Linked DNA regions of Homo sapiens: all the other regions are linked to region 1. Evidence: promoter capture Hi-C in 16 types of primary human blood cells and fetal thymus (Javierre and others, 2016). All regions are on one chromosome and are shown on one strand. Each heading gives the region's core, a stretch centred on a gene start or on the middle of the fragment in contact. The rest is flanking DNA. Distances are from core to core; before and after follow the strand shown. Region 1 holds the start of LPIN2 (lipin 2). Region 2 overlaps SMCHD1 (structural maintenance of chromosomes flexible hinge domain containing 1). Region 3 overlaps SMCHD1 (structural maintenance of chromosomes flexible hinge domain containing 1). Region 4 has its middle 43 kb from the start of MYL12-AS1. Region 5 overlaps SMCHD1 (structural maintenance of chromosomes flexible hinge domain containing 1). Region 6 has its middle 1.8 kb from the start of SMCHD1. Region 7 overlaps SMCHD1 (structural maintenance of chromosomes flexible hinge domain containing 1).

Region 1 (2,806 bases), core at 205-2,704:
ATAAAAGAGATACTTCAGTCTGACATACCACAATCAACTACAATGTAATTGGAGGGAAGAGCCGATGTTGGACGGCTATCACACGTGGCTTCACACTGTTCTTTTTCTTCTCTGGCTGGGTACGGCCTGAGGATGACTGCCCTCCAACAACTGAGGATGCTGCAGGAGGACCAGCCCAGCACCTGTCTCCATCCCCTGCACTGTGTGGCCGGCTCTGCCGCTTCTCCCCCGCTTCAGCATCACCTGCCACTTCTTCTCAATCTGAAGCCACTAAGAACGATCAACACCAGACCGTTAAAACATAAACCAGTATGGGCCACTAAATAATTCGTAAATATTTCAAAATGTATTTCAAAACCGACTTTGTATTGTCAAAACATTATAATCTAGCCAGGCCAAGTTTTAATAAACAGTAACACCCATCATCACTACTGGGTAAAGAACTTCATTCAACAGGACCTACCTTGACACCAAGTCTAGAGCCTCGTTTTCAATTAAAAAAAAAATGGGTAAGCCCCAAATGTGCATTAAAAATTAGTTTGGCCATTTACTAAGTAGTCCTTCAAAGCATTTCCAAGTATTCAGAGTTCCAGTACTTTTCGGAAAGGAAGGGTGATCTTTCTGGTACTGGTTTGCATAATTATGCCTAAAAAATGTCATCTTGAATTTTCAATGAAAAGAGTCTTAAAATGTTCAGGCGAGTGGAGAAAATGGTGATCCGCTGGCGTTAGAAGTGGACAGAGAGGCTCTCAGTACAAACTGTATCTGAACGTGTTCCTCACAAATTAAGATCTGCACCGGGGGCTGGGGGGCTTTGAGAAAACTAACCACATTTGAATCCGGTCCACACAGCTTGAAGGCGGAGGTACGGGGCAAAGCGCGGCGGGGAAGAAACACCAGCAACTCGGCGGCCCCCGCCTCGCCGCAGATCACGTGCCCGGCGCCCCCTCCCGCAGGGCCGGGGGCGGGATGGAGACGCGGCCTCCCGCGCGCCTTCCGCACTCCCCTCCGCGCCCCAAACCCAGGGGTAGGGGTGGTCTCGGGTAACCATCCCCAGGGCGGCGGCGAGGGAACTGCGCGGGTTCAGAGTCCTCAGCAGCCACCACTGACGCCCCGACGCCCCCGGCTCCCCGCGCACCCCGCCGGTCCGTCCTGCGGCGGCGGCGGTAGGGGCCGCGTCTACGTGGCGCGGTCGCGGCGAGGCGGGGACTGGGACGCGAGGACCGGGAAGCGGGGACCGCGGCGCGAGGAGGGGCGGCTCAACCCGCGCCGCCCCGGAGGGTCCCGGCCTCCGGCAGGACAGCCCCGGGCCCGCGCCAAGGGAAGCCCCCAGGCGCAGACACTCACCGCCAGCCCCGGAGGGACGCCTGCGAGGAGCCCGGCCCGCGCCCACTTACCCACAGGGGCTCCGCTCCCGGCCAGCGGGCGGCTGAGGGCAGGCGGCGGCTGGACTGCGACGGCTAGGACCCGCCGGGGAGGGAAGCCGAGGGGGCGGGGCCGGTCGGGGGCGCGCGCGGGGTCGGAGCGCCCGCAGCCGCCGCTGCCTTGGAAGCCGCCTGGGCCGCAGCTGAGTCGGGCGGCCCTCATGAATGGGACGCCGCGGCTGCGGCGGCCGAGCCGGCAGCTGGCGGGCGGGCAGCGCGCAGGCCCCGCCCCAGCCACGTGACGCGCGCTCCCGGCCGCGCGCCGCGCCCCCGCCGCCGAGCGCCAGGCGTGCGGCTTCTCACCGCTCCCAGTCCCTGGGCTGCGCGCCCGGGCCCCTGGCCAAGTGAGGGCGGGGCCTCGATTTTCTAGTGCCTCGGGCGACAGGAGCCTTACTTTGTTTTAAAAAAAAAAAGTTTCTTCCGGTCCCCATGGCAACCCTGCGGCAGGTCACGTGGGACTGAGAGCCCAATTGCCAAAAAGGAATGTTAAAGTGCAAAAAAAGTCTAGGGAATGAATGTTTTATAATCCCCTTTTGATCACTAGTAGCACATCTCCTTTGCTTACTTACATCTCCACCGAAAAAAAAAAAATCCTATTACACAACTCATTTTTAAAAATATGCCGGGGTTCTGTTGTTTTTTGTTTATTCTTTTTATCGCTCTGTTACCCCGGCTGGTCTCCAACTCCTGGGCTCAAGCATCCCCGCACCTCGGCCTCCCAAAGTACTGGAATTACAGGCATGAGCCACCGTCCCCAGCATTAAAATATACTTTTTAAGAAATGGGTGGCTCACGCCTGTAATCCTAGCACTTTGGAAGGCCGAGGCAGGCGGATCACTTGAGGTCAGGAGTTCAAGACCAGCCTGGCCAACATGGTGAAACCCCCGTCTCTACTAAAAATACAAAAAACCAGCCGGGCGTGGTGGCGCGTGCCTGTAATCCCAGCTTCTCAGGAGGCTGAGGCAGGAGAATCAGTTGAACCCGGGAGGCGGAGATTGCAGTGAGCCGAGATGGCGCTATTGCACTCCAGCCTGGCGACAGAGAGACTCCGTCTCAGAAAGAAAAGAAATGGGGCCCGGCGCGGTGGCTCACGCCGGTAATCCCAGCACTTTGGGAGGCCAAGGCGGGTCGATCGCCTGAGGTCAGGAGTTGGAGACTAGCCTGGCCAACGTGGCAAAACCCCGCCTCTACTAAAAATACAAAAATTAGCCGGGCATGTTGGCTGCAATCCCAGCTACTTAGGAGGCAGAGGCGGTAGAATCACTTGAACCCGGGGGGCGGAGGTTGCAGTGAGCAGAGATTGCGCCACTTCACTCCAGCCTGGGAGCGAAACTCTGTCTCAAAAAAAAAAAAAACAAAAAAAACTGGATTGCTGGTGCTAT
Region 2 (3,223 bases), core at 301-2,800, 340 kb before region 1:
ATGCCTTGTTTAGCTACTTGGGAGGCAGAGGCAGGGGGATTGCTTGAGTGAGCCAAGGAATTCGAGGCTATAGTGAGCTATGACTGCACCCCTGCACTTCAGTCTGGGCAACAGAGTGAGCCTCTCTCTCTAAAAAATAAAAATAAAAATAAAATTTTCTTTGTAGAGATGGAGTCTCACTATGTTGCCCAGGCTGGTCTTGAATTGCTGGCCTCAAATTATTCTCCTGCCTTGGTCTCTCAAAGCCGTGGGATTATAAGCACCTTGATTTTCTTCTTACCTCACTGCCTGCCCTTTCTTCTCTCCCCACCTTATTAATATTGAAGTGCCTTAGGGCTTAGTTCTTGCCCTTTATGTTGTATCTTACTTCCTCACTTGGTGATCAGGTCCTATCTCATGGTTCTAAATAACATCATTACAGAAGTGACTCTCACAAGGAAGAGGTAGGAAATGGTCATTTTTAGTTAAATATTGAAAATGGTGCCGGGTTTATCTCTTGAAGTCCAGTTTTATCCATCCAGCTGCCCATGTGGCATCTCCTCTAGGATGTCTAAAATGGGAACCCTCATCTGCTCACTGAATTTTATACCACACATAGTTCCCCCTATCTGAATTGATTATTACTGTGTCCTTCCTGCTGCACAGGCCAAAAATCAAATTGATACTTGTATTTCTCATACCTCTCATACCTCTTAATCTGACAGAAAATCCTTTGGGTCCTATTCTCAATGTTTTATCTTAAAATGACCATTTCTCACCATTTCTATTGCTACCACCTGGTCTGGAGGCACCATTGTATCACCCAGATTACACTAACTAGTAGTTACTGGTACCTGTCTTTTCATCCCTGTCCATAAAAGGTTTGAGAAATTGGATTGTGTCACTCGCTGCTGAAAACACCCATGGCTCCCCATTTCACTAAGAGTAAACACCAAAGTCGTTACAGTTGCCTGCAGGGACTTACTAGCTCTGCTTTGTACTTCTCTGACTTTGTTTCTACTACCTTTCTTACTTTTTCACTCCCCTTCACTGCCATCCATATTCTCAGCTTAGGGCCCTCTGCTTGGAATGCTTTTCCTCCAGTTAGCCCTGCACTCATTTCTTCACTTCCTCCAAGTCTTGGTTATCTGTTGTGTTCTCAACAAAACTTAGTCTATTTAATTGCAACTGTATTCCTTCTGTGTCTTTACTGTTACTTGATTTCATTTCTCTGCTGTTTCTTTTTTCTCTATTGCACAAACCATCTTCTAACATGCTATAGAATTTATTTATTATGATTATATTTTCTTTCCCATATTCCTCCATTAGAATGTTAAATCCCTAAGAACAGAACCTTCATCTGCTTTATTCAGTTCCTAGAACAATGCCTGGCACATAGGTGCTTAAATATTTTAAAATTGAGTGAATCTGGCTGGGCTCACGCCTGTAATCCCAGCACTTTGGGAAGCCCCGGCGGGCAGATTACTTGAGGTCAGGAGTTCGAGACCATCCTGGCCAACATGGTGAAACCCCGTCTCTACTAAAAGTACAAAAATTGGCCAGGCGTGGAGGTGGGTGCCTGTAATTCCAACTACTCGAGAGGCTGAGGCAGGAGAATCGCTTGAACCTGGGAGGCGGAGCTTGTAGTGAGCTGAGATCATGCCACTGCCACTCCAGCCTGGGCACCAGAGGGAGACTGCATCTAAAAAAAAAAAAAAAGAAAATTGAGTGAATCTTTTAATTCTTTTTTTTTTTTTTTGAGATGGAGTTTGGCTTGTTGCCCAGGCTGGAGTGCAATGGCGTGATCTCGGCTCACCGCAACCTCCGCCTCCTGGGTTCAAGCAATTCCCCTGCCTCAGCCTCCCAAGTAGCTGGGATTACAGGCGTGCACCACCACACCTGGCTAATTTTGTATTTTTAGTAGAGATGGGGTTTCTCCATGTTGGTCAGGCTGGTCTCAAACCCCTGACTTCAGGCGATCTGCCCGTCTCGACCTCCCAAAGTGCTGGGATTACAGGCGTGAGCCACTGCACCTGGCCCATGAATCTTTAATTATTTTCCTGGGGATAAATTGCTAAGTGTATAATTATAGAGTCAACAGAAGTATTTTAAACTCTTAATGTAGTTTATGTTTCATATTGATCAGTTTTCATCATGCCATCATTATGAAATGATATGAAAACCCTATCAGTTGAAACCATATCAGTTGAAAACCGTATCAGTTTTCATTCATACCATCATTATATGGATAAGCAGAAAACCCCAGTGTTTAAAATCTTGCCTTGATTTCTGTGACTTTACAGTACATTCCCGGGTCTTTCCCTACTTCTGTTTCCCTACTTCTGGTTCTTTTTGACTCTGGTGGACATTTCTTCAAGTTATGTTGATCTTTTCTTTTCTTTTTTTTTTTTTTTTTTGAGACAGAGTCTCGCTCTGTCGCCCAGGCTGGAGTGCAGTGGCACTATTTCGGCTCACTGCAAGCTCCGCCTCCCGGGTTCACGCCATTCTCCTGCCTCAGTCTCCTGAGTAGCTGGGACTGCAGGCGCCCACCAGCACGCCTGGCGAATTTTTTTGTATTTTTTTAGTAGAGACGGGGTTTCACTGTGTTAGCCAGGATGGTCTTGATCTTCTGACCTGAAGATCCGCCCGCCTTGGCCTCCCAAAGTGCTGGGATTACAGGCGTGAGCCACCGCGCCTGGCCTTGATCTTTTCTTTTTATACTTTCAGTAAACTGATCCAAGCCTTAACTGTTGTACCTGTGTGATGAAGCAAATTTCTTTTTCCCCTCTTCTTTTTCATCTAATCAGATTCTAAATTCTACTCATTTCTTCCTTCCAAATTTCTCTTTAGGTTTCTTTTCCTGCCATTTCCTACAGTGTCCCTTCTTCATTTTCTGGAGTTATTACCTTAGCCAGATTACCCTTGTACATAATCTGATTTGTGGTAACTTCTTTGCAATTCGTTTATAAACATAGCTGTCCTTGGAGTGTTTAGGGTGAGTAGAAGTGCTTGCTGGAGTGCTACTTTGGTTTTTTTGTTTTTGTTTTTGAGATAGAGTCTCGCTCTGTTGCCCAGGCTGGAGTGCAGTGGTGCAATCTTGGCTCACTGCAACCTCTGCCTCCCAGGTTCAAGCGATTCTCCTGCCTCAGCCTCCCGAGTAGCTGGGATTATAGGCACCAGCTACCACGCCCAGCTATTTTTTTGTATTTTTAATAGAGATAGGGTTTCACTGTGTTGGCCAGGC
Region 3 (3,048 bases), core at 167-2,666, 300 kb before region 1:
TAATTAAGATCATAATTAACAAAGTTTGTGGAACATTAATATGCTGGTTTCATAACAGGCTCCCTGATAGATTGTCAGTAACTTGGCCTGAAGGAGATGAATTATTGCCTAATGAGGTTAGGCCTGCTGGAACCCCTATTGGTATGTTTGTTTATTTTTCTAATACCAAAAAGTGTGCTTTTCTTTTGTCTTACATTTCCAATATGTAAAAGGTCACGAGATATTAAAATGCAATGGGAAGATTTGGCAGATTCAGCAAATTTTTGGGTGTAATTAAGATACTTTTAATTTTTGACTCATAGGTGCGTTAAGAATTGAAATACTGAATAAAAAAGGGGAAGCAATGCAAAAGCTTCCAGGAACAAGCCATGGAGGGTCAAAGAAACTCCTGGTTGAGCTCAAAGTTATTTTACATTGTAAGTATACAAACTAATTTAGATCTTTAATATTGTTTTTAAAATATAATATCAAATTAAATATCTTCATGTAATTATTGATGACCTAGCAATCTGATAGGCATAGCAAATTTTATTGAAGTTAGGAATTTCAGGAATGTTATGAATAGCTCATTTTCTTGGTGGATATTTTTCTAAGGTTTTTAAAAAATACTTCATCTTGAATTTTTTCATGTGGGTAACTGGGCTAAAGTAAAGGCATGATACATATATGTAGAAGAATTTGCAGTAGGAATTTCTATAAGCATATATGTATTATTACAGTTCTAATAATTACAGTAATAATTACAGTATTGATTACAGTATTATTAGTCATCCAAAACAGGTTTCACTGAGCTAAAATTAAAGTGTCTTCAGGACTGCATTTCTTCCTGGAGGTTCTGGGTGAGCCTTGCCTTTTCTGCCTTTTAGAAGTTACTCTCAGCTGGGCTTGGTGGCACGAGCCTATATAGTCCCAGCTACTCGGAAGGCTGAGGCAGGAAAATTGCTTGAGCCCAGGAGTTCGAGGCTACAGTGAGCTATGATCACGCCACTGCACTCCAGCCTGGGTGGTAAAGTAAGACCCTGTCTCTAAAAAATAAATAAATCACACAGAAGCACCACTCTCATTCCTTCATCTTCAAAGCCAGCAGTGCAGCACCTTTCATGACCTTCCTGCTTTTTTTTTTTTTGAGACAGAGCTTCGCTCTTGTTGCCCAGGCTGGAATACATAATGGCACAATTTAGGCTCACTGCAACCTCCGCTTCCCCTGTTCAAGCAATTCTCCTGTCTCAGCCTCCTGAGTAGCCGGGATTACAGGCACATGCCACCACTCCCAGCTAATTTTTGTATTTTTAGTAGAGATGGGGTTTGATGGGGTTTCATCATATTGGTCAGGCTGGTCCCTGCTTCTATTTTCAATAACTTCATATATATATATATATATATATATATATATATATATATATAACATATTAACATGAAATTTATGAAGTGGCATTAAGTACATTCATATTGTTGTGCAACCATTACCACTATCCATGTAAAGCATTTTTTCATCATTTCAAACTGAAACTCTATAGTAATAACTCTTCATCACTCCTTTCTCCCTGCCCTGGTAACTACTTTTTAACTTTCTGTCTCTGAATTTGACTATTTTAGGTACCTCATAAAAATGGAATTATATTTGTCCTTTGTGTCTGGCCTGTTTCGCTTAGCATAGTGTGTCAGAATTCCCATTCCTTCTTAAGGTTGAATAATATTCCCTTGTGTGTGTATATATGTGTATATGTGTATATATATATATATATACACACACACATGTATACACATACACCATATTTTGTTTATCCATTTGTTTGATGGATACTCAGGTTACTTTCACCTGTTGTCTATCGTGAAGAATGCTCCTGTGAACATCAGTGTACAAATAGTTCTTTGAGTCTCCGCTTTGGTTCCTTTTAGATACATTCCCAAAAGTGGACTTGCTGGGTCATATTATTATTTAATTTATTGAGAAACTGCCGTACTGTTTTCCACAGTGGTTGCCTCATTGTACATTCCAGTTTCTCCATGTCACCCCCACTTGTTATTTCCTGTGGGTTTTTTTGTGGGGGACGGATAATAGCCATCCTAACAGATATGAAGTGGTATCTTACTGTGGTTTTTTCCCCCCTTTTTCCTACTAAAGATAATTGTGGTTTTGATTTGCATTTCCCCAATATTCAGTGATTTTGGCCATCTTTTTATGGGCTAATTGCCATCTGTATATCTTCTTTGGACAAAGGTCTATTCAGGTCCTTTGGCCATTTTTAAATTTTGTTGTTGAGTTGTAAGAGTTCTTTATAATCCTGGATATTAATCCCTTATCAGATAAATGATTTACAGATATTTTCTTCCACTCTGTGGGTTGCTTTTTCACTTTGTCAATGGTGACTGTGATGCACAAAACTTTTTAATTTTGACAAACAATTAGTTTCTTTTTTCTTTTGTTGGCTGTGCTTTTGGTGTCTTATCCAAGAGATTGTTACTAAATTCAGTGTTACGAAGCTTTTCCTGAATGTTTTTTCCTTACAAATTTTATAGCTTTAGCTCTGTTGTTATTACTTTGATCCATCTGACCTTGACTTTTGCATATGGTTAACTTCTTTTTATATGGAAAACTTCTTTTGCCTGTAGATATCCAGTTTTTCCAGCACCATTTGTCAAAGACTATACTTTCTCTATTGAATTGTTTTGGCCCACTTGTTGAAAGTCAGTTGACCACATATGTGAGAATTTATTTCTGGGCTCCCTGTTCCCTAGGTCTATATGTCTGTTCATATGCCCATGCTGCACTGTTTTTGTTTACTGTAGCTTTGTAAGTTTTAAAATGAGGAGGTGTGAGTCCTCCAACTTTATTCTTGTTTTTTAAGATTGTTTTGGCTATTTGGGTCCATGGAGATTCCCTATGAATGTAGGATGCGTTTTTCTATTTCTGCAGAAAACACCATTGCGATCCTGGTAGGGATTACACTGAATATGCAGATCACTTTGAGTATTATTTTTACCTTAGCAATTGTAAGTCATTCAATCCGTGAACATGATTTTGTATCTGCAACTTTGCTGAGTTTA
Region 4 (3,151 bases), core at 507-3,006, 290 kb after region 1:
ACTTGGCTGGAAGTGGAGGTCATTATTCTAAGTGGAGTAACTCAGGAATGGAAAATCAAATACCATATGTTTTCACTTATAAGTAGGAACTAAGCTATAGGTAAGCAAAGGCATACAGAGTGGTAAAACGGATACTAGAGACTCAGAAGGGGAAGTAGGAGGGGGATAAGAGATTTTTTAAAACTACATATTGGGTACAATGTGCACTAATTGGGTGACGAGTACACTAAGATCTCAGACTTAACTATACAATTCATCCATGTAACTGAAAACCACTTGTACCCCAAAAGCTATTGAAATTGTAAAAACTGTATATAAAAAAAAAAATAAAATAAAATCTCAGAATCCAAGCAAAGTCCACACATTGCATCTTATTGAAGGTCTCTTAATCTCTTTTACTTATTTATTTTATAGACAGGATCTGACTCTGTCACCCAGCTTGGAGTGCAGTGGCATGATCATAGCTCACCTCAGTCTCAAACTCCTAGACTTAGCGATCCTGCCGCCTCAGTCTCCCTAGTAGCTGGGACTACAGGTACACATCATCATGTCTGGCTAGTTTTTAAAAATTTTTTGTAGAGATGGGATCTTGTCATGTTGCTCAGGCTGTCTTACCTCTTTTAATCTATTTATTACCTTCTCTCTTTTTCTTTTGGTTGTAATTTATTTGTTGAAGAAATTGGGTGCCTTCTCCAATAGAGTGCTACTTCTCAAATGCTAAAGTGTATACAAACCACCTGGGGATCTTGTTAAAAAGTAGATTCTCCAGCCTGGCCAATGTGGCAAAATCCCGTATCTACTAACAGTATAAAAATTAGCCGGGCGTGGTGGCGGGTGCCTGTAATCCCAGCTACTCAGGAGGCTGAAGCAGGAGGAGTTGGGGGTTGCAGTTGAGCAGTGAGCCGAGATTGCACCACTGCACTCCAGCCTGGGCAACAAGAGCAAGATTGCGTCTCAAAAAATAAATACATAAATAAATTAGTAGATTCTGCTTTAGTGCAGGGATCTGCAGTGGGTCTGAGATGTGGCATTTCTGGCAAGCTCCCAGGTGAGGTGGATGCTGACCATCCATGGACCACACTTAGAGTAGCAAAGTCTAGAGCTGCCTGCAGTCTGCATTCTGATGGTTGCATCATGATGTCATTACCATATTTTTCTGTTCCCTCTAAACTGATGGTTGGATCTTCTGAACTGCATGGAAACAACCTTCTTTTCTGTAACTTTTAATGTTCTTTCCAAAATATACATTTGAACAATTTGGAAGTTTTCCACTGGTATCTTTATAGTTTTTGGTATAAAAGTTATGGTAAGTGCCCTATACAAGTGTACCATTTTTTAGTCTTTTCTGTCATATTTTTACTCTACCTTTTCTATGTTTAGATACACAAATACCTATCATTGTGTTATAGTTGCTGACAGTATTCAGTACAGTAACATACTGTACAGGTTTGTAGCCTAAGAGCAGTAGGATATCACGTATAGCCTATGTGTGTAGGAGGCTAGACCATCTAGGTTTATGTAAGTATACTCTATGACGTTCATACAGTGTCAAAGTTGCCTACCATGTGTTTCACAGAACATGTCCTGTGGTTAAGTGACTCATGGCTGCATTTATTCAGGGCCTAGGGTTTCCGTGCACTCTCATACTTGGCAGGCACTTGGTAGTCTGGATGTGTTTTTTCATTTACCGGCTGAGGCATGAATGCAGCCCGTGCATTTACCTGTGTGCAGGAATGTGGTGTTGGTGCTTTTGTATACCGCACCATTCACATGCCAATTAGGTTGAATTTTCAGATTAATTAGATGAACTTAGAGTTGCCAGGCTCCGGAATAATTGGATATCAGACAAGAAAAATGGAAACAGAATTTGTAAGTGATTTACAAGTTTCAGTACTTTGTTTTCAGTCATGAAGCCAAACTTTACCAAGAAGAGAAAAGATTCAACAGTGGAACATTTGAGCACAGTGGCCAGAGCTTTCTGGGCCGTGGAACCTTGGGCCCCTGACCTTTCAGGCTGGGTTGTCTCTTGTGGCCCTAATGTTTGCAGCAAACCGGTGGCTTGGTTGTAAATTTCATCTTTCTATGGGCTTCAGTCATTCAGAGGGCAAGCACGGACTTCTAAGGATTAGAGGGAGCCTCCTTGTTCAAATGTTTATGTGATTTCCTCTTCCAGCCACAGGTTGCTTCGTACTCACACGCAGCAGATAAGGCTCTGGTTCCTCTCCCTCAGACCTGAGCTCATCGCTTCCTCTGCTCTGTTGCTTCTTGTCTTCTGTCTCCTCTGGCCCTCGCCCAAGGTCAGCCTGCTGCCGAGTGTGTGTTATTGGCATTCCCACACATTTTGAGAAACCCTGTAGTGTTTCCACCGCATTAGGGTATTTAGGTTACAGGAAGAATTGGTGATGTTGAATTGAGGTCTTTTTTCATTACGATTACTCTTCTGTGAGCAGATAGAGTCATACCTGACACCGATCCATTTAAAAATCTGAACAAATTTTACTGATGCTCTAAAAAGTACAGGTTTCTTCTTGAGCCCAAATGACATTTTGTCAGAAATGGAATACCAATTTTATTCACTGGGGAGGTGACTCTGTCCCCCCAAACCCTCCCTATCCTTGTCCCTCCTGATCCACTGGGAAGTCATAAAGTGGCTTCCACAGGCAACTGAAATGCGTTCTGAATCATCCTCTCCGTCCTCTCCCGTGGGGCAGGTAGCAAGAGTAACAGGAAATAACAGGCACATATCAAATCACATTGCTTAGGTTGGAATCTCAGAACTAGGGGAAAATGTAAGTTTCAATTCCTGTCTCATTCCAAAATAAATTCAAGGCAGCATTTCATGTAAAATATAAAGTAAATATATATTACTTTAAATTTTGGACAAAATTGTAAACCCTTTCAAGCCTCATGTTTATCACCTGTAAAATGGAGAAAATACGAGCACACGCTTCACAGGGGTGTTATGAGCAGTGATTATTATAGCTCATGGTAAGCACTTAGCATAGTGTCTGGCTCATTATAAGTGCTCAAGAGACATTAGTCATTCATATTTCTCCAAGTTTCATTGATCAATATTCTGTCTTGCTGCACATTATTATCATTAATTATAAAGTCATTTTGGGTAAAAATTATTTGAATCAAAGATATGATA
Region 5 (3,019 bases), core at 1-2,500, 330 kb before region 1:
ATTCCTTTGTGTAAATCTGTCCAGTATTGTTTTCCTTTCTGAAGCTCTTTCTAAACATTCTTTTATAACTTGAGTCTGTTCTTGGTGAATTTTTTTCAGATTTTGTATGTCTGATAGGCTCTCTCTCTTCCCCCCAAACCCCAAAGATAGTTTTGCTGAGCATCTGTTTGAGCTTGACTTTCAAAAAATTTAAGTACAAGTTGAGCATCTCAAATTCAAAAATACAAAATCTGAAATGCTCCAGAATCCAAAATTTTTTGAGCACCAATGTGACACTTAAGGAAATGCTGCTGGAACATTTCAGATGTTGCATTTTCAGACTTGGGATGCTCAGGTGGTAAGTATAATGCATCTATTCCAAAATTGGAAAAGAAATCAGAAATCTGAAATACTTTTGGTCCGAAGCATTTTGGATAAGGGGCACTCAAACCTGTATGTTAAATATGTCACTCAATTTTCTACCAGCTTGCATCGTTTATAAGGAGAAATCTGTTGTCAGTCTTATCTTTGTATCTCAAAACATATAGTCTGTTTTTCTCTGACTTGTTTTAAGATTTTTTTTTTAAATCATCAGTGTGTATGCTTTGTAGCATTGTGGTGTGTGTTTCTGTTGAAAGTAGTTGTGTGTTTGTGTATTGTGTGAGGTGTTTTGTATAAATGCAAACTTGTGTGGGGAGGCATTTTCTGTGTGTTATTTTGTGTCGACAGTTTGTGTATGTTGTGTGGGGATGTGATTGTAGATGTTGGGAGGGTATTGTGAGGGGATACTTTTTTGGGTGCTTTTGTTGTTTTGTATCTCTGGTATTACAGTGTCCTACCTGGTCAATGTTGTCTTTATTTTGATTATTTATATATGAGGATAGGACTTTTTATACCAATTAAAATGTTTTTGTTTATCCCATTCTTTCTGTTTCTGTTTCTTCTGTTTTCTCTTAAATTTATTGTCTTCTGCTGTTTTGTTTTCTTGCTCCATCTTTTTCTTTTTAATATTTTAGACTTTATATCTTCTCTGATCTTCTTTGAAGTTTTAACATGCATATTTAACTTTAGATTTCAGGATTTAAAATATTTTCCTTCCCCCAACTTAAGGACTTCATTAGCTTTGGTCACTCCCTTCCTGAAATGACACTTTTGTTATTGAAGGTATTTAAAGTGTGACTTTTTAGAAATTCAACAATATGCACACACCAGTTTTTCACCACACCAGTAAATGTCTCATATGTAGTCCTTAAAAAAATTACTTTTGTATGTGTTGTATTATGGTGACCTCTTGTATGTTAGATTGTGCTTGTAGGAACATTTCTTTAGAACAAGTCTTCTGGTGGTAAATTACTTTGGTTTTTATCTATAAATTGTTTATTTTTCTCTAGTTGACAATTTTAGGTTAACAGATTTTTTTCAGGCACTATAGAGATAATATTCCTCTCTGTCTTTTACTGTTGCTGTCAAAGCCTGCTCATCTGTTTTGTCCTGTCTTATCTCTTAGTCTATTTTCTAGTTCTTCTGTTTGGTTTTTGGTGTTTACAGTGATGTTGATTTCTTTTTATGTATCTTGTTTGGGCTCTTTTGGTTTTCCTGGATCTGTGAAGCCATGTCTTTTATTGGTTCAAGAATATTTACAGCTATTTTCCATTCTCTGTCCCTTCTCTTTCTAGAGCTGCATTTAATCTTGTGCCAGATATTTTCCTTTGGTCATTTATGTCTTTTAACGCCACTTTGATATTTTCAGTTTTCTTTTCTTTCTTTGTTTCCTGTGGTTACGTTCTTTGCATCTTTCTGTTCTCTAATTCTCTCCAGCTATGTCACACCTGCTCTTTAATCTTTCCATTGAGTTTAATAGTGGTTCCAGCCTCACCTTCATTCTGTTTATTTCTGATAATGGGGGATGATGTCCCCGGAGACTTTGCCTACATTTTGAAAGACCAGTGATGCCTCTTCTTCAGAATATTGTTATGGTGCACTGTTCCCTCAGAGCTCTTCATTTATCATGATATATGGAAGTGAGACTCTCCTTTGCTCTAATTACCATTATTCTTCAGACAATATTTTAGCAAGTTTTGAAGTAGCAAACAGTTTTGAAGGAAAGTTTTAGAGGCATGAGGATAATAAAAATACTTATTTAGTCCTGTTTGCTGAGAGATTTTCTGATTTAGTAGGATTGAGCCCAAGAGTTTGCATTTCTTAAAAGTTTTCAGCTAAAGCTGATGCATCTGGCCTGGGGACTACACTTTGAGATGCACTGGAGTAGATGTCTTGACACTGATTATTTCACCTTTCAGTTAGGGGTGTTTGCAGGCGTGATCATTTTATTAACACTGAATACAAGTGCAATGAAAGTTTCTTTTGACACTTAACTAGCTTGTTTAAAATCACTGCATTAATGTTTTATTTTAGTGATCATTCAGGATATGTTCGTCCAGTACCAGTGCCACGCAGTTTAAATAGTGATATTTCCTATTTTGGTGTTGGGGGCAAGCAAGCTGTCTTCTTTGTTGGACAATCAGCCAGAGTAAGTAAAAAGATTTCTTATAAATGAAAGTTGATCAAAATATTTTGAAGTTGACTCTGTCTAAATGCATTAACCAGTTTATTAGGAATTTAAAAAGTACTCTTTTTAATATTTAACAGATGATAAGCAAACCTGCAGATTCCCAAGATGTTCACGAGCTTGTGCTTTCTAAAGAAGATTTTGAGAAGAAGGAGAAAAATAAAGAGGCAATATATAGTGGATATATTAGAAACAGAAAGGTACAATACATTTTAACTCATAATTATAAATTTACTCCTTTGGATAGACGGTGGGACAGAACTTAACTTGAAAGTATGAAATTTTCAAAATGAGTTACCCTTTCCTTTAGTCATAATAACAAAAATGGGCTTTCTCAAGCCAAAAATCTTCAGACAAGTTGTCTCATAAAGCTTACTAAGCTTTCTGTAAATTGCTTGTAGGATTGTAAGCTTTTTTCCCTGGTCTGAATTTGGGTTTTAAAATCTTTGTTGTATAATAAAATTATAGAGT
Region 6 (2,772 bases), core at 95-2,594, 360 kb before region 1:
AGGCAGGGTGGCTCACGTCTGTAGTCCCAGCACTTTTGGGAAGCCAAGGCAGGAGGATCACTTGAGCCCAGAGTTTGAGACCAACCTGGGCAACATAGTGAGACTCTATCTCTATTTTTTTAAAAATAGAGTATTTCACACTAATAAGAAAATCAAGACCTAGGTTTTACACACACACACACTATATGGCAGTATACTGCAGTGCAACAATTTTTGAGTTTCATTTTCTGGACAGGAATGCCAAGTTAGTCTCTCTTCATAAAAATAATTTGCAATTTGAGGACACTTCGTGTTTGCCCCTTTGCGTTTGCCTCTTTGCCAGCACCAAGTCAGCCTCGTCTGAGTCTTTGCATTCCATTAGAAACATTAATTCTTCACTGCAGTCTGTGGCACCAATTCTTTGCTTAGGATCAAGAGTTCTGGCAAAGTCTCCTGGTTTTTCAGCAGCATCCCTTTCATTTGCTGTCATCAGATTCACTCTCGGATAAAGATTTTCTTTTTGTACTATCTTTTCCTTTACCAGTTTTTTTGAGGATTAAGAAATAGTTCAATGAACTCAGGAAAATCTAAGTTTTCTTCAGGTTCTCAATTATTGTCAGCAAGTGTAAATCCTTTCCGCTTCAGGGAATATTCCACCTTCCCATTCACCACACCTTGGTGTAGTACTTTTTCCACCACAAAATCCTCAGGCTCTGCTTCATCAGCTTTTATACCCTTTCCACTAAGTCTTTTGTCCCATTTTTTTGCAATGTACAGTGGCCCTCAGTATCCTCGGGTTCCGCATTCCTGGATTCTATCAACCGAGGATAGAACATATTTTAAAATCACAATAAAACAAAAAAATACAAATGAAAAACAATACAGTATAACAACCATTTACATAGCATTTATATTGCATTAGGTATTATAAGTAATCTAGGATGTATGTAGGTTATATGCAAATACTTCGCTCTTTTATATGAGGGACTTGAGCAGCCTTGGATTTTCCTATCCATGGGGGTCCCGGTCCAGAAACCAATTTCCCAAGGATACCAAAGGACGACTGTAGTTTTACTGGAGGCCATTTTTAATTGCAGACATGAAGAGCTATTGTTCACCATCTCGTTCACCATCTCTGAGCTGCACCTGGTCTGGGTCTGTGGCATCTCAAATCCTGCCTGACTCAAACTTGAGCTACATGCAAGGAAGAAGGGAATGGGGAACTTCTTCAGGGGCCACTAAGTTTTGGGGAAGTTCGTTATGTAGCAATAAATAACTGATACAAGGCCACTTAAATATTTTACTCTGTAGTAAGATAGCTAATTAACAAAAACTAAGAGTCAATTGAAGAGAACTCATTAAGGAAGTGGGTCATTTCAAACGCTTTTATTTACTTGTGATGACAATTAAATAAAGAACAAACTCGTCATCTTTCTTTGATGAAAAAATTGTTTGATATTCTGAGAACAAAAGTGATGCCATACTGCCATTAAGAAACTGATTCAGACTCGATCTCTCAACAAGGTAAGACATCAATGTTCCCATCAAGAGCTGCCCATAATACTGCAGTACACTTCTCTGGCACCATTAAAAAAAAAATCTCTTAGAGATGATCCTGAAATCTCTTCTAAAGACATGAAAGAGGTGTGCTTGTATAATCTGGTATTACAAAGAAATGAGAAATTGCCCTGATGACGAATCTCCAGCTCTAATCTCAATTTGCTGAAGTAGAGAGGCAATTCATCTTACCCATTAACTAAGAATTAGAAAAACAATTTGTGTTTTTCTTTGAGTCATTTAACTCAAATACCACTATATAAAGGAATAGAATGAGACATTCGCATGAATTTGAAAGGTAAATAAAACATCAGACTTCAAAGAAATTCCATTAGAATCGGGGGTTACTTTTTTGTTTTCTTTTCCTCCACCTCCACCTTAAGGAACATGAACGGCATTTGGCCACAGTTTATGTCTTTCCAATTTTATCTTCCACCATCTACCGCTCAGTTCTCCTCACTTCCAGCCAAACAATGTATGTTCCCCAAACACGCCTTCACAATTTCGTTCTAGTTGGTGTCTACCTCTAGTATATGTGTAGTCAATTTATACACACATTCCCCACGATCTTGAAACGTCTTGACATCCACAAGCAAATCTAGGTTTCTAACATAACACTAACTTTGTAAGTCTGTCCATATAAGGTTTTAGCAAACCTAGTAAAACAGAAAACGCACTATTATCCAGGCTTATATTCTGAGATTTGAAAAACCCCTCTATCTGCTACCTTTGGGTTTCTGAATTTACATACCACTCTCAAGTATACAGTATTCACGATTTCTAAGAACTGGAGAGTAAACCTAGTCCTCTAACAATGGCATTTTATTTGTTGAGTTAGGGCACTACCTGCCCACGATGAGGATAGTTAATGAAACGCTGCCCGGTAACGACGATTAAAGGCTTTGATTGAAAACGTATTAGGCCTTAAGAATTTTGCGAACATCTAATTTAACCCTAGTAACTGTGGCGTGGGTTCTTTCAGAATTTACACGCACGTGGGAGACCGCGAAGCGCAGGCAGCGTTAAAACTAGGGCGCTGGAGTCACCCCCGTACCCCGAATGCCGTCGGCGCTCCAGGGCCCCCAGAGGGTGCGGGGGGCGGGGACGCTGTGACGTCACAGAGCGCCCTTCTGACGTTCTCACGGACCCGCTTTGCCTCGGGGGCCCACGCTGGAGCCCACCCAGTACTACTAAGAAATGAGGAGGAAAAAGGGGCGCCGGCTCTCGTAGCGCCTA
Region 7 (2,911 bases), core at 83-2,582, 290 kb before region 1:
TTAGGTACTACATTGTATCTTTACTAATTCAATATGTGCTATTTTAATTTTACATTATATGTATTATATCATTTTCAGTGTTTAACCCATTGGTATCACTTATTAATACTTGTTGGATCAATTTTCTTTGTAAAAGAAATCCATTGGAATTTTTTTCTGTTTAGTTTTTTATATTTAAAAAATATTTTATTAGAAAACTAGACATGCCAATGTCACATAGGAAAGCAAAAACACATTTGCAGCTTACTTGTAGGCAATTGAGGGGAGTTAAAAAATAATTTTTTTTCCCCAGTGGTTTATCTTTACATTATGAAGAAATAACCAAAGGACCAAATTGTGTAATTCGAGGTGTTACAGCCAAGGGCCCTGTAAACTCTTGTCAAGGCAAGGTAAGCATTATGTATAGATCCTATGATACTTGTTAAGTATTTATTTATCATATGGTAAGAATGAAATTGTAAATGAAAAGTGGAATGACCTATTTTTAAAAAACAGATGACAGTAATTGGGTTCTTAGGAATTTATCAGCATTATGCCACCTGACTTATCAGTTACATCTGTAAGAAAAGTTGGCACATTTACTACTGTTGTTGATTAAACATGAATTAAATATTTTTCACCTCTCCCCGTTATCTATACTTCAGTTTTTTCACATTCAAAGCCATTTTTTCGACATAGTTATCTAGGACTCTGCTGTTTTTTTTTTTTCTCTCTCCTACTGTTTCTGTCCACTTTTGAATATTTTTCTTAGAACAAAAATGACAATTAGAAATATGAGAAATTTCAGCTCACATCTTTAAACATATCACTTTGGTATTTAGATAAAAGGAAGTGTTTGGTGAGAGATACAGTTAAGGAAGGAATCCTATGCATAGTTTGTTGGTCTAAAAAAAACAGGGAAGCTAAAGATAGAAACTCTAATAAGGTAATTTTTCAGTTAGGTCTATAAAGCAGCTAATAGACTTAACTGACTAAAAGGAACACTGTAGCAAGTTTTTTTTCAGTGTATCATTACTTTAAATATTTAAAAATTTTCCCTATCCGTGTGATGTTTAAAACAGAGCATGTGTATTTTTTTCAAGTACTATATGCTGCTTTGTATAATCAAGTCAAAAATTGAGTTCTTGATTCTTTCTGAATTCAGATTTTTCTGGAAAAAGAACTTGAAATTCACAGAAAATTTGACTTTAGTAAGATAAACTTACTAAAAATTTCTAGATTTTAAAAACCTTTTTATTTTGAAATAACTTTAGAGGAAATTACTTACAAAGGAGTTCGAAGATAGTATAGAGAGGTTACATGTAGAAAGTTCCTCTGTTAATGTCTTACAGAGCTTTATATATTTATCCACACATTGACAAAATACTACTGACAAAACCGTGGACTTTTTTTTACTTGTCTCCAGTTAATTTATTTTTCTGTTCCATGAACCAATATGGAGTACCACATTGCATTTCAAAATTTTCTGGTTTTTGTTTCTTTCTACTTTACTATTTCATATGTTTTATAATATCTATCTTGATTATGATAATTATTCAGAGGTTATGCCTTTTGAGAATAAAAATTTAAGAGAAAAATTGATCCTAAAATGATATTCCTATTTTGGAAAAGTAGATTCTACCATAATTCTCTTCCTTTCACTGTCTATAAGGAAGCAGTATTGATCAGTTTTTTTCCTCTAAGATTTCTGACTCCATATATGATAATTTTAGTAAGTATAAAGTTGGTAAGTAATTTCTACAATGGTATGAAAATAAAACCAAAATATAAATCAGAATTGATGTGATAAACTACTTAAGTATGTATTCAGGACTGGGTTTAATTTTTACTGTTTTTTTCCAACAGAATTATAATCTGAAGGTTACTCTGCCTGGCTTAAAAGAAGACTCACAGATTTTGAAAATTAGATTACTACCTGGTAATATTATTTCAAGAAATATAATTATTTAAAATAATTTTCTTATGTTAAAGTATAATGATATGAAGTTAGAGGTTTTTGGGCTTTTAGTAGTGGTGTAAATCTTGAAAATACACTTAAATGTCAAACCATAGCACTGACAGAAATGACCAGTTTTTAAAAAGGAAAACATTTAGGAAGATGTTATTGACATTCTGAATATAACCTTGGGAGAAAAATTTGGATATTGAAAATGTTTGGGGAACTGTTTCTTGGAATATGTCTATTAGGCTTTATTAGAGATGGGTCTGTTCTTTACATTTTGTTGATAAAACTGTTTCATATTTTAAGAAGAAAAACTTCTAATGTTATTTTTATTAAGTTAACTTGATAATGACTTAACCTGAGAAAATGAAGTTGCATTAAAGTTACGTAGGGTAGAATATGCTGGCTAATTTGAGAGGTAGTCTATGGTAGAGATTTTAAGTACATTCTGGAGTCAGCCCTTCTGGGTTAGTATCTAGGTAAACTCGTTCTATGCCTCAGTTTCTTCATGTGTAAAATGAGATAATATCTACTCCCTTGGGGTTGTTAGGAGGATTAAATGAGTTACTACAGGTAGTCCTTGCCTTGCACAGTTCTGTAGTACTCAATGGAGGACACAGTTCCAATATGCGTGAGTTTTCATTAACACCTACTGTACCAAGTAAGAACTGCCTGCACCTGTAAAACACAACAGTGTTTAGCATGTAAGTTTTAACTCTCATATGAAAGATACCACAACCATATCTGTGTGCATATGTGACCTTTTTACTGGTTTTAAGCAAAAAGAAACATATTAGCTATTTGCTTTCACAAATTGAAGTTGTTTGACATTTCCCTCCAGTGTGAATTGTTGAAAGAATTTAGGTAGGTCCATTGGTGGAAGTATAAGAAAAAAATCATACGTATCAACAAACATTCATTTATTTGAGAGATTAGATTATTAAAAGTATGGATTTGAGTAGTACAATT

Evidence for each region. The method cuts DNA at HindIII sites, captures the fragments that hold promoters and counts their contacts. A CHiCAGO score of 5 or more calls a contact.
Region 2: a contact is called between a fragment that was not itself captured here and the fragment with the promoter of LPIN2 in region 1, in 1 of 17 cell types (activated CD4 T cells). The highest score is 5.3, in activated CD4 T cells.
Region 3: a fragment that was not itself captured here is called in contact with the fragment with the promoter of LPIN2 in region 1 in 2 of 17 cell types (activated CD4 T cells and total CD4 T cells); the score reaches 7.4 in activated CD4 T cells.
Region 4: a fragment that was not itself captured here is called in contact with the fragment with the promoter of LPIN2 in region 1 in 1 of 17 cell types (naive CD8 T cells); the score reaches 5.1 in naive CD8 T cells.
Region 5: a fragment that was not itself captured here is called in contact with the fragment with the promoter of LPIN2 in region 1 in 5 of 17 cell types (activated CD4 T cells, total CD4 T cells, non-activated CD4 T cells and 2 more); the score reaches 7.3 in activated CD4 T cells.
Region 6: a fragment that was not itself captured here is called in contact with the fragment with the promoter of LPIN2 in region 1 in 4 of 17 cell types (non-activated CD4 T cells, naive CD4 T cells, neutrophils and 1 more); the score reaches 7.5 in non-activated CD4 T cells.
Region 7: a contact is called between a fragment that was not itself captured here and the fragment with the promoter of LPIN2 in region 1, in 4 of 17 cell types (activated CD4 T cells, total CD4 T cells, neutrophils and 1 more). The highest score is 7.2, in activated CD4 T cells.

The regions. Positions count from the first base shown.
Region 1 is chr18:3,011,690-3,014,495 of GRCh38, forward strand. LPIN2 (lipin 2) reads right to left here and starts at 1,455. Exons shown (of 20, transcript NM_001375808.2): 1 at 1,398-1,455. RefSeq lists a silencer at 896-1,845. The HindIII fragment of the contact is 8,581 bases long and covers 1-2,806 here.
Region 2 is chr18:2,669,218-2,672,440 of GRCh38, forward strand. All of the region lies in intron 3 of SMCHD1 (structural maintenance of chromosomes flexible hinge domain containing 1), which reads left to right. Among named protein-coding and RNA genes, the nearest start is that of SMCHD1, 15 kb to the left of the region's middle. The HindIII fragment of the contact is 3,598 bases long and covers 1-3,223 here.
Region 3 is chr18:2,707,505-2,710,552 of GRCh38, forward strand. SMCHD1 (structural maintenance of chromosomes flexible hinge domain containing 1) reads left to right here. Exons shown (of 48, transcript NM_015295.3): 16 at 59-141; 17 at 303-416. Among named protein-coding and RNA genes, the nearest start is that of SMCHD1, 53 kb to the left of the region's middle. The HindIII fragment of the contact is 2,132 bases long and covers 351-2,482 here.
Region 4 is chr18:3,303,914-3,307,064 of GRCh38, forward strand. No RefSeq gene overlaps it. Among named protein-coding and RNA genes, the nearest start is that of MYL12-AS1, 43 kb to the left of the region's middle. The HindIII fragment of the contact is 5,888 bases long and covers 1-3,151 here.
Region 5 is chr18:2,686,000-2,689,018 of GRCh38, forward strand. It overlaps SMCHD1 (structural maintenance of chromosomes flexible hinge domain containing 1), which reads left to right. Exons shown (of 48, transcript NM_015295.3): 6 at 2,395-2,509; 7 at 2,629-2,748. Among named protein-coding and RNA genes, the nearest start is that of SMCHD1, 32 kb to the left of the region's middle. The HindIII fragment of the contact is 3,334 bases long and covers 1-2,917 here.
Region 6 is chr18:2,652,510-2,655,281 of GRCh38, forward strand. It overlaps the pseudogene CBX3P2. Among named protein-coding and RNA genes, the nearest start is that of SMCHD1, 1.8 kb to the right of the region's middle. RefSeq lists an enhancer at 1,396-2,025. The HindIII fragment of the contact is 2,993 bases long and covers 1-2,772 here.
Region 7 is chr18:2,724,607-2,727,517 of GRCh38, forward strand. SMCHD1 (structural maintenance of chromosomes flexible hinge domain containing 1) reads left to right here. Exons shown (of 48, transcript NM_015295.3): 21 at 293-389; 22 at 1,846-1,918. Among named protein-coding and RNA genes, the nearest start is that of SMCHD1, 70 kb to the left of the region's middle. The HindIII fragment of the contact is 5,322 bases long and covers 1-2,911 here.